Linked DNA regions of Homo sapiens: region 1 is linked to region 2. Evidence: promoter capture Hi-C in human tissues and cell types (Jung and others, 2019). All regions are on one chromosome and are shown on one strand. Each heading gives the region's core, a stretch centred on a gene start or on the middle of the fragment in contact. The rest is flanking DNA. Distances are from core to core; before and after follow the strand shown. Region 1 has its middle 7.1 kb from the start of IL5. Region 2 holds the start of GDF9 (growth differentiation factor 9).

Region 1 (5,780 bases), core at 150-2,649, 330 kb before region 2:
TGGAAAAAGATACTTCTATCTGGTATGAAATTGTCATACATACTCAAATATATAATGTCTCTGATGTAAATGGTGCTTCCTGGGATTGTGCAGTGCACAGAGTGGTCCTGCAGGTATTCTTGCATTATTCTTTTTTTAAAGAGATGATTTGAACATATTACCATTGAGCACAGTATTTTCTGTAAGTTTATCAGGTTAAAAAAGTTCCTTTCTATTTTGACTTTGTTAAAAAGTAATTATAATAAATGAATGTAAAATTTCAGTAATGCTTTTTCTGCATTGATATCATCATGTGATTCTTCTCTCTCTCTCTCTCTCTTTTTTGTTTTGTATTTTGAGACTGAGTTTCGCTCTTGTCACCCAGGCTGGAGTGCAATGGCACGATCTCAACTCACTGCAACCTCCGCCTCCCAGGTTCAAGCGATTCTTCTGCCTCAGCCTCCAGAGTAGCTGGGATTACAGGTGCCCGCCACCATGCCCAGCTAATTATGGAATTTTAGTAGAGACAGGGTTTCACCATGTTGTCCAGGCTGGTCTCAAACTCCTGACCTCAGGTGATCCACCTGCCTCGGCCTCCCAAAGTGCTGGGATTACAGACGTGAGCCACTGTGCCCAGCCTGATTCTTCTCTTTAAAAAGTGATTAATGTGGTAAATTACATTAATAGATTTTCTGACATTTAATTTTATATTCCTGAAATAAAGGAATATTTCATATTCCTGACACTTAATTTTATATTCCTGAAAGAAAGACATTACATTAGTTGTTATGTAATGTCTTTTTATACATGCTGGATTTGGATTTATAAAACTTTGATAACAATGTTTATGTCCACATTCATGAGTGAGTATGGGATCATAATTTTTCTTTCATATATTTTCCTCCTCTGACTTTCGTATGCTACATATTAGCTTCACAAAATGAGCTGGGAAATATCTCATTTTGTTTATTTTCTATAAGAGTTTATATATGTTTGGAATTATATGTGACCTGACACTTTAGAAGGACTCACCTAGAAAACTATCTGGACTTGGTGTATTCTTTCAAGAAAGATTTTAAATGACTGGTTTAATTTCTTTAGTGGTTCTAGATCTGTTTAGATTTTTCTATGTCTTCTTGCATCAGTTGTGGAAATTTATGTTTGTATTGGATACATATTTGTGTGCCTTCTCAGATTGCCCTCACTGCCTCCTATCTGTCTCTTTGTCAGCACCAACACCAACACAGCACCCTTAATTTCCAGGCATAGAAGGCAAGCAGAGCCTGACTTCAGGCTCTGCTTTCTGAAGAGACCTGGCTATGACAATTAGTATCAGATGTAATTTTAGGTAACAAACACTTGGAAATGGAACATTGACATTGGATTATTCACTATTTTAAAATAATATGAACCTATTGCTGAATATAAGTAGGTTGATAATAACTTCTGGCAGGCAGTGGCTTTGCAATTTCTTAAGCTTTTAGCTCTGGTTAATTTAGATGAGGGGCAGGTGGACAGCAAGACAATGAAAGATAAAATGACAGGGTTATATGAGAACAATGGTAATTATAAAGATTGCAGAGTACAATGACTCTTCTGACAGCACTGAAGACCTTACCAAAAGAAAATGATAGGCTCATGGCAATCTAATTCTAACTTAACATATTCTCGGAATGCTCGACAACTCCCATGGCAACTTTAGAGGAGACTCTTATTTCCAGCAACTGCAGGGCAAACCGATCTGAAAATTAGGCTCAGGATCTGATTATTTGCAGCCTTTGAAGAGCTTCAAAGGAGAAGAGTGGATTTTGCACATTCTGTGTCAAAGTCAGGGCTCTTATGAGGAAAGGCTGGGACCATGAGACCTGGGATAGAAACATTTGGGTGGACAAACCTAAAACTCTTGAACCTCCAAATTCTCTGAGCCCTCCTTAACTGGTAGAAGCAGACCTTTCCCCCTTGCCAGAGTAGACTAACTTCTCCTTGCCTGGAAACAGAATAACTATTTCACTTGAAACATATACTTCACAAGATGACATTTGTTCTGCCCACAACCCTCCCTCAACACCCCTTATTGCCTCAAGGCCAATAATTAAAGTCAGATCTAAGAACATCTTGTGTTAACTAGGCACCAACCAGGAGACACAAACTATACCAGTTATTTTAATAAGCAGAATTAAATATAAAGAACTGTTAGCCAGGTATTGGAAAACTAGGCAGGCAAAAAGGGAACAATAAGGTATCAAGGAGGTGGCAATTGTGGGAAGCAGCTAGCACTTCTATGTCTGGGAAGCAAAGGGAACAGGTGAAAATTATTAAAACTTATAAATTTGGAGGACGGGCTTTGTGGACCTGAAACTCAGACATCTGTAGAGGGGACACTGCTCTGCATGCAGTGCAGTTCCTGAGCTCAGAAAAGGGGTCCTTTGGGAATGGGATCCAGACCTCTGAGGGGATGCTGATTGGCTGTTGCTGGGGTCTCAGAGGGAAATGAGGTGTGCTAAGGTCGGTTCTATGAATGGTGGAAAAACTGCAAACTATAATCAAATGTTGCTACTAGAGTCAACTACTGCTGCCAGGGTTCATGTTAGGATTAGGATTAGGAATAGGAATATAAGAGGACAGGAACAGGAAACAAAAACAAAGAATAGGAAGCAACAGGAAGAAAAAAGTCCCCTTTTCTTCCTCCAGCCTCCTAGTCTACACCCTCCATTGACAGATCCTAACAGGGTTGCAGCTGGCAAAGGAGAAATTGGTTTGCAGAATCCCAGCTGCAGCAGAGTATAGTATAGTGGGCTTGAAGCTGAGAGACAATAGCTTCACAGCTGACATACAGTCTTGGCAGGGAAGTGTAAGGTGTGCAGGAGTTTACTAATATGTACTGTCAGAATCCAGAATCGAGTGCATCCTGCAGCTGTTTGTCCAGAAGAATATAGAGTTGAATGGGATTGGATTTATTGGTGTGGGTATACTTACGACTCAGAATTAAGTTTTCGCAAGAACAACTGGAGTTAGTCCTAATAGTTTGCTGGAGTGGCTCCTTGAAGCCTGATCCTGATGATGGTGTACAGAATATGAAGTGGAGACACCTGAACTTCCTCCCATAGTATTGAAGAAAAGAGCAGATAGCTCAGAGAAGCAGGAATACTAAAATGGATTTTTTGTATCTGGCCTGAGAACCTACTATCTGAGTATGTTCCTGGAGGACACAGAATATACTCCTTTTACTAACACAGCAACAGATACACTAGTGAAGAGAAGCAGGCATCATTGCAAACATTGGTGGTGGATGTCCCCTGTAAGCTGGGTTGAAGGTGAAAGATGCTGCCAATGACATGGACTCCCTAATATCAATAGGCAACATGAGATCCCTAGAATGGCAGAGCTCAGGTTGGAAGCACTTAAACATTAGAGGCAAGGGGGACATAATTACCACCACAAACAGCAAGGCCATGGTGCCAACCAGGGTGCCTTGACTCTTAACCTTCAGGGATCTATTGTGGTGGCTAAGAAATTAAAGTGTTCCTAGAGACAAGAAACGTTGATAATCAATTAGCATGTATATGTAATCAAGTGGTAAAGGGCTGACATCAGCCACCACAGTGGAAATGCAAGCTCTTCATCCAGTTCCCACATCTAAGGCATTCATAAACCCAGTGTCCATTGATTGAACAGGAGGACTCTATAATCCCACTACATATACATGCAGTAAACTTTCTTTAATCCTTTACCAAAGCGATCTGGAGCCATTCATCAGGATAAGTACACACTAGTATAGGAGATACCCAAACTTTTCAAACATTGTTAAATATGAGGTCTGAGCTAATACTGACACCAGGAAAACCTAAATCTGCCATGATTCTTTGGTAAGAATGGGACTTCCATCGGACAAGTGAAACATGGAGACTCCTAGGCTTGAGTCTTTTATACTCTGGAACTGTTTTTCTAGTTCTTTGTTGTATAAATGGAATAAACATTCTAAGCACCTGGTAGAACCTTCCTGTGGCTTTGAAACTTTTGTAACAGCTCGTTACATTTATAGGCCTGTGCATTTTACTCTCTCTATGTCGTGATCCTGATGGTAAATGTACACAATGATATGAGACCATGAAAGCAGTAGGTCAGCTGGCCACAGGCAGGTACATTGAGATTAAAAAAACTGCTGGACATGGTGGCACTTGCCTATAGTTCCAATTACTCAGGAGGGTGAGATGGGAGGATCACTTGAACCCAAGAGTTTGCGTCCAGCCTGGACAACATAGCAAGACTCTATCTCTTAAAAAAATAAAAACAGTCCAGGCACGGTGGCTCATGCCTGTAATCCCAGCACTTTGGGAGGCTGAGATGGGCAGATCATGAGGTCAGGAGCTCGAGACCATCCTGGCTAACATGGTGAAACCCCATCTCTACTAAAAATACAAAAAAATTAGCCAGGTGTGGTGGTGGGCACCTGTAGTCCCAGCTGCTAGGGAGGCTGAAGCAGGAGAATGGCATGAACCTGGGAGGCGGAGCTTGCAGTGAGCTGAGACCATGCCACTGCACTCCAGCATGGGTGACAGAGTGACACTCTGTCTCAAAAAATAAATAAATAAATGAATGAATAAATAAATAAAAAGACCGGGCACGGTGGCTCACACCTATAATCTCAGCACTTTGGAAGGCTGAGGCAGGTGGATTGCTTGAGGTGAAGAGCTCAAGACCAGCCTGACCAACATGGTAAAACACTGTCTCTACTAAAAATATAAAAATTAGCTGGGTGTGGTGGCATGCACCTGTAGTCCCAGTTACTCGGGAGGCTGAGGCAGGAGAATCACTGGAACCCAGGAGGTGGAGGTTATAGTGAGCCGAGATCATGCCACTGCACTCCAGGCTGGGTGACAAAGTGAGACTCCATCTCGAAAAAAATAATAAATGAATAAATAAATAAATAAATAAAAATAAAAAGAGGGCAGTGTGGTGGCTCATACTTGTAATCCCAGCACTTTGAGAGGCCAGAGTGAGAGGATCACTTGAGGCCAGAAGTTTAAGACCAACCCAGGTCACATAGTGAAACCCCATCCCTACAAAATAATTTTAAAAGATATTAACTAGGCATGGTAGTAAGTGCCTGTAGCCCCAGCTACTGGGGAGGCTGAAACAGGGGAATCACTTGAGCCCAGGAGTTCAGGGCTGCAGTGAGCAATGATCACGCCACTGCATTCCAGCCTGGGTGACAGAGCAAGACCCTGTCTCTAAAAAAAAAAAAAGAAGGAGGATATGGTGAATGAAAACATCTAAAGGGCAATTACAAGTTTGTTGGGTGGGAAAGAAAAAAGATACTGAGACAGAGGGTATAGTGTGGACCAAGGCACAGAGGTATGAAAATTCATGGATATTCTGTGAAGAATAAGAGCTAGCATTCTTTACAGATCATCTCTTTGTTTTTTTTGTTTTTTTTTTTTTTTTAAACAGCCTCATACTGTTGCCCAAAGTGGCACAATCAGAGCTCATTGCAGCCTCACCTCCTGGGCTCAGGTGATCCTCCCACCTCAGCCACCTGAGTAGTTGGAACTACAGATGTGCACCACCACGCCTGGCTACTTTTCTTTCTTTTTGTAGAGACATCTTGCTATGTTGCCCAGGCTAGTCTTGAACTCCTGGACTCAAGTGATCCTCCTGCTTCAGCTTCCCAAAGTGCTGGGATTACAGGCATAAGCCACCATGCCTGGCCTGAACATCTCCACAATAAATGTTTTCCACATACAGTTCTTCTTCATAGAACGTGTCTCTCAATACAATGCTTTCCCACCAATATTTATATT
Region 2 (6,088 bases), core at 1,774-4,273:
TTTTTTTTTTTTTGAGACAGAGTCTCGCTCTGTTGCCGGGCTGGAGAGCAGTGGTGCGATCTTGGCTCACTGCAACCTCTGCCTCCTGGGTTCAAGCGATTCTCCTGCCTCAGCCTCCCGAGTAGCTGGGACTACAGGTATGCACCACCACACCCAGCTAATTTTTGTATTTTTAGTAGAGACGGGGTTTCACCATGTTATAATTTTTTAAAGCACCACACCCAACTGCTGAGTCAAACTGTGGACTGATACTTTGTTCTTGTAAGGGCCAACTGTTCAAAACGGGAACTTTAAGCTTTTCTCTCACAGAAAGTAACAAACAAGAGAAAAATATCCTATTTAACACATCACACCAATAGCTGTAAGAGATGTTTAAGGTCCATTTCTGGGCCAAAAGCTTGGTGGAACAGAAAGAGGTGCTAACATTCTCTAGCAGCACTTCCGCTCAGCCTTGAAAGCCATTAAGTCTCTGGTGTTGCTTTAAAATTCCATCATATTAGCCCACCTTAACCAATGAGAGCGTTAGGAATAAACAATAAGCTCAAGTCCCAGATTTGTTTCAACTGGATATTGAGTTTTATGCAAAATAAAATACAATTCAAGGAACTAGGCTCAGCTCCTTTCTGTAATTGAAATGCAGAAGTGTCTATCATCTTCCCTCCACCCAGTTAACCAATCTGCTTTCACATACCTGTTACCTGGTCTCCAGGAGCCTGCTTGTGCCGGGTACAGGGGGTGAAGAGCCGAACAGTGTTGTAGAGGTGACTTCTATTGGATTTAGGAATCCCTTCCTTGGTAGCATATGTCTTATAGAGCTTCTTCATGTAGTGCAAAGCTCTGGAGTCTGGCTGCAGCCTAGGTGACCCACCTCGCCCAACAGATAGAACTTTGAAAAGCGCGGGAAGGAGGCCAGCTCTGTCTCTCTCATCTATATGCTGCAGCAAGGACCAAGGCATAGCCCCAGATTCCAACTCAGCACTAGCAGCAATCTGAGCTTCTCCCCCAGAAGCCTGAGAACCAAGGCTAATAGGAAAACACAGCCAGGCAAAGCAGCAAAACCAAAGGAGGAATTTGTTGGGACGTGCCATGGCTTGGGAGAACTAGTGAGGAACATATTTCTCCATGCCAGTCCTCTTCCTAAAGGCCAGGAAGAGCCTAGCTTGGTCTCTTAAATAAATTTCAGGTGTGTGGGTGGACTACGGTCACTTCTGTAATCAGGCCTCAAGTATGCCTAGCTGAAGATTTTATCAGCTCTATATCAAGCAGCTGATAACACCTTATTTAGCCAATTTGTTAATTAGATACAGATTTACTTGGTTATTTAGCTTTCCTCTCTTTTCCCCTGGCATTTACGTAAAACCCGTTACTGTTACACTACCGGACTAACTATGTAGCTGAAAGTCTAAGATAAATTGAGGAATGATCTTAAATAAAATCTCTCATTTTTTGAGAAATTTGGATTAAGATGTTCGCTAGGTGCTTGCTGAAACTTCTAAGGCATGTGGAAAAGCTAACCAATTATTCATGACGATACTCAGATCTGCTGGTATGCAACTTATGGTATTAGGTTTACTCTTCCTCTCAATTTATCCTCACGGCCTTTTCCACTTCCAGGTGTTTACAATTGTAATTATTCGCTGCATGTTAATTTGCGAATTTACAAATTTGGGTGAGAAAGTCACAATTGGCATAGAAGTTCCAGAAAGCAGAAAACCATTAGGTCTCTCAGTCCTCCCAGGTGGCTGGGTACAGAATACGTACTTGGAGTACTGGAATTGTATTTGCGATGTTCTTAAAAGAGGACACCGCCTTTAACCTTGACTTATTTTTAAATGTAACATACTGATGTCCTTACTTTGGTCTGCACACTCATCTATACATATTTTGGTTGAAAGGTTTTGGGATGTTTGCAGATGCTATAAAATAAATGAACGTTTTATTATTATTCATCCAAATGGTGGTAGAATTTGCCACAATATTTCTGTCCTTACCTGTATTTCTGTTCTTGCCTTGGAGCTGAGACCAGGCTAGACATTATGGTTTAAAAAAATGAGGCAAAGGAGCACCATGAAAAGCTGAAATGAGGGGATATTCAGCGCCACCCCGAAGGAGACTATGCTGGAAGAGTCAGCCTACACTCATAGTGCAAGATACGAAGCCAGTTTGTGCAGTACCTACATGAGAAAACTAAGGTATGTCTGCAAAATACAAGTTGACTGCCTGCCGAGCCTCCGTGGTCCGTAAGTAGTGTTATAAAACACAGCCAACTGTTGAATGAGAGCTTAGTCCTAGATAAAATATGGCCAGCAATTCCATTAACAAAACACTGACAAGACACCTCAGGGCGAGCTGTACATTGACAACAGCATCGTCAAGCAGAATGCACTTCAGGGAAAACATAATAAGGCCTCTCACCCGACTTTCCTTGCTTCTCACGTGGGGAGAAGAAAGAACTGGGGCATCGTGATTCCCCCCACCCCACGCAAACCATCTGGGGAGGACGCTGGCTGCTGTCGAGGCGGCCTCAGCATTCATCAATTGACGATTATTTGATTATTTTTGTGGCTGAAACTGACGAAACGTTTGTATTATCTCTTGGGAACGTTAACAGCCTGCCAGGGGACTCTAAAACAGAGTCCAAGAGAAGCCTTCGATGTGTGTCCCTGATTTTGGTGCTGGGGTCGCTCATGGCCTGAAAATAACGAAGCCCCCTTTGAGCTACTGGCCAAGGCCAAATGAAACCTCGTGCTCCTCTGCTGTGGGGCGGCCCGGCCTCGGGGCTCAGAGGCGCTCTGTCTACAGCTGGGAAGACTCGCAGGCCCCAAGCTCCTGGCCAGCGCTGCCCCGGAGGTCGGCAGGCCCCTTCCTCGTCACCTTTTTGTTCCCTCCCCCGCCTCCCGCATTCGGCCGCTTCCTGACTGGGATTCCACAGAAAAGCCGAGGGCTGAGGAGAAGTGTGAGCGCCTCCGCCTGTCCACTGTCCCCCAAAGTCAGTTCAATCCCCGACGTCCTCCGCTAGGCTCCACCCCACCGGCCCGGGCAGGGCCTCCAAGGCACCTCCCACCTACGGGTCACCCAGTCAGCCCACTTCTTTCTGGGACAAAGGCGTCATCCCTTAGAGACAGTAGGAAAATGGTATCTCCCGGAAGTTACCTCACGACCTCCAAGAGCGGCTTCCAACCTTGCCGGAAATGACGAACGAGTCAACCGGATCGGTGACTGTGGAGGGCGAGCTGAGCCCTGTGCGTGAGTGGGGTCTGGTTGTGCAGTGTTCGTGGACCCTGGGAGGCTAGGGGCGCCCCGCTGGGCTGGGAAAGGATAAGGAGTGCAGGGGCAGGAGTCTGGGGTTGGGGATGGACCCCCGCGGGGACTGCGGCGCTTCGCGAAAGCGAGCCAAGCGCCTGTCCACCCTCGGTCCTGCAGGGCCGCCGCCACAATGGGCCGCGAGTTTGGGAATCTGACGCGGATGCGGCATGTGATCAGCTACAGCTTGTCACCGTTCGAGCAGCGCGCCTATCCGCACGTCTTCACTAAAGGAATCCCCAATGTTCTGCGCCGCATTCGGGAGTCTTTCTTTCGCGTGGTGCCGCGTGAGTGCCTTGGGCCCGCGGGAGCGGGAGGCTGGACCCCAGCAGCAGCAGCAGTCACTGCGCCTCCCCTCTGAGCGCTGGCGGCCGGGCAGGCGCTCTGTAACTTGCCGTACACACCTTTCTCATTGAATATTCCTGACCGCCCTTAAGCTGGTCATATTATCCTCCCCATCTTACACGGGGAAAACTGAGCTACAGAACTGAAATGACTGGCCCAAGGTCACTCGGGTGATTCCAGCATGTTCCTCTGAGGTCACCTTTATTTAGTTCTTACCAGTGGTGAAATGCTTTGTGTTAAACGTGCAGCAGATAGTGATGATAGTTGCATGGCCTTGGATATGCTAAGAACTACTGAAGTGTATGCTTTAAAGAAGACAAGAGGACTGAGACCTTTTTTTTTCTTCTATATGTCTTATATGTGTGCTCTCTGTTTACTCTCTTAATTTTTAAAGAGTTTGTAGTGTTTTATCTTATCTACACATGGGGGACTGAAGAGTTCGAGAGATCCAAGAGGAAGAATCCAGCTGCCTATGAAAATGACAAATGAGCAACGCATCCGGATGACGGTTCCCTGTCTCTGAAAGACCTTTCTCTGGAAGAGGAGTCTGCATTGTAGTGTCTCAAAGACACAATAAACTTCCTATGGTCTGCACTGTTGTGATATTACATTTTTGTGAGTAGAATCCTGTGTGACCACTAATATTCAAGTTCATGAAGCGCCCCTCCTCAGCATGAGTCTTGAAGTTTTGCCTGGTCTCGGGTTTTGGTGAAAGAGCAGGGCTCCCCCTTTGTTCCATTATCTACAAGAAAGTAGCTGCAGGTACTCCTGCATCTAACCATTTGTGGGTGACATGGGCTATGGCGAGTGCTGGTTCTTGGCCCTCTGCTCCCATAGCAACAATAAAGTCTACTAACTATATTGTAATTAGTATGTGTCAGGGACGCTTTTATTTTTTATTTTTTGAGATGGAGTCTTGCTCTCTCACCCAGGCTGGAGTGCAGTGGTGTGATCTCGGCTCACTGCCATCTGTGCCTCCTGGGTTCAAACGATTCTCCTGTCTCAGCCTCCGAGTAGCTGGGATTACAGGTGCAGGACACCACACCTGGCTAATTTTTTGTATTTTTAGTAGAGACAGGTTTCACCATGTTGGCCAGGCTGGTCTGGAACTCCTGACCTCAGATGATCTGTGCGCCTCAGCCTCCCAAAGTGCTGGGATTACAGGCGTAAGCCATGGTGCTCTGGGCCTCAAATACTCTTCTTAGCTACACAAATGAACTGTTAAACCTCACAAGCACCTTTAACGTATCCTCATTTGGCAGATGAGGAAATGGGCACAGAGAGATTAAGTAATTTGCCAGAAATTATACAGCAGTGAATGGTGGAGTCTTGCACTAAAGTGATGCTCTTAAAACTATGCTCTATTGCAGGGGTGTCCAATCTTTTAGCTTCCCTGGGCCACACATAAAATACGCTAACATTACAATAGCTGATAAGCTTTAAAAAATGGCAAAAAAAACCCTCAGCGTTTTAGAAAGTTTACAAATTTTTGTTGGGTCGGATTCAAAGCCATCCTGGGCTGCTTGCTGCCCAGGACTGCGGTTGGACAAGCTTGCTCTACTGCCTTTCCTCCTAAGGCAGGCCTTAGCCTGAGGGGATATCAGCTATAAAACGGATGAGGTGATCTCTTAGCCTCCACAGCAGTTTTCTGTTTCTGTGCCAGGAGGCCAACAATGTTTTCAACCATATGTGGTTCATAAAGCCTCAAAGATTTACTCTGGCCCTTTATGAATAAAGTTTACCCCTGATCTAAAGCCTTTAAATTATCTTTTTGGTATTAAAGATACCATTTTCCCTTCGCCCACCGAGAGATGGTGGGGGTAGGTGTGGTTGGCAGTTTTATGCCTCTAGTTCCTTAGAGAGGCTTCTCTCTAAGCTTCGGGACATGGATCTCACCTGTGGTAGCAGGTATGTGGAATATGATGAGTTGTCATAGCTCAGTCAGTACAGTATATGCTATGGGATCTGAGATCCGTTTTTAGAAACTCTTCTAAGGACTCTTCCTGCTAGCAGCAACTTTGATTCTGGGTCAGACTGTGTTTTTTTTTTTTTTTTTTTGAGATGGGAGTCTTGCTCTGTCACCAGGCTGGAGTTTAGTGGCGCAATCTCAGCTTACTGCAACCTCCGCTTCCCGGGCTCAAGTGATTCTCCTGCCTCAGCCTCCCAAATAGCTGGGACTACAGGCGCATACCAACACACCCAGCTAATTTTTGTATTTTTATTTTTTTTTTTAGTAGAGACGGAGTTTCACCATGTTGGCCAGGATGGTCTTGATCTCTTGACCTCGTGATCCACCTGCCTCGACCTCCCAAAGTGCTGGGATTACAGGTGTGAGCCACCGTGCCTGGCCAGACTGTATCTTTATTATCCTAATTACTGCTATTGCCTTTTAAGAATCAAAAGTTAAGATACTTCAAAACATGGCCGGATACAGTGGCTC

The links. Contacts are between HindIII fragments. The study calls those that stand out against the background at their distance.
Region 1: a contact is called between a fragment that was not itself captured here and the fragment with the promoter of GDF9 in region 2, in 1 of the 25 tissues and cell types used here (IMR-90 fibroblasts).

The regions. Positions count from the first base shown.
Region 1 is chr5:132,533,573-132,539,352 of GRCh38, forward strand. No RefSeq gene overlaps it. Among named protein-coding and RNA genes, the nearest start is that of IL5, 7.1 kb to the right of the region's middle. The HindIII fragment of the contact is 7,519 bases long and covers 1-5,159 here.
Region 2 is chr5:132,863,446-132,869,533 of GRCh38, forward strand. It overlaps GDF9 (growth differentiation factor 9), which reads right to left and starts at 3,024. Exons shown (of 2, transcript NM_005260.7): 1 at 692-3,024. The coding sequence starts at 1,088. UQCRQ (ubiquinol-cytochrome c reductase complex III subunit VII) reads left to right here and starts at 3,197. Exons shown (of 3, transcript NM_014402.5): 1 at 3,197-3,242; 2 at 3,424-3,590; 3 at 4,043-5,402. The coding sequence starts at 3,437. The coding sequence ends at 4,137. RefSeq lists enhancers at 2,476-3,675, 2,534-3,034, 3,035-3,535. The HindIII fragment of the contact is 5,371 bases long and covers 1-5,361 here.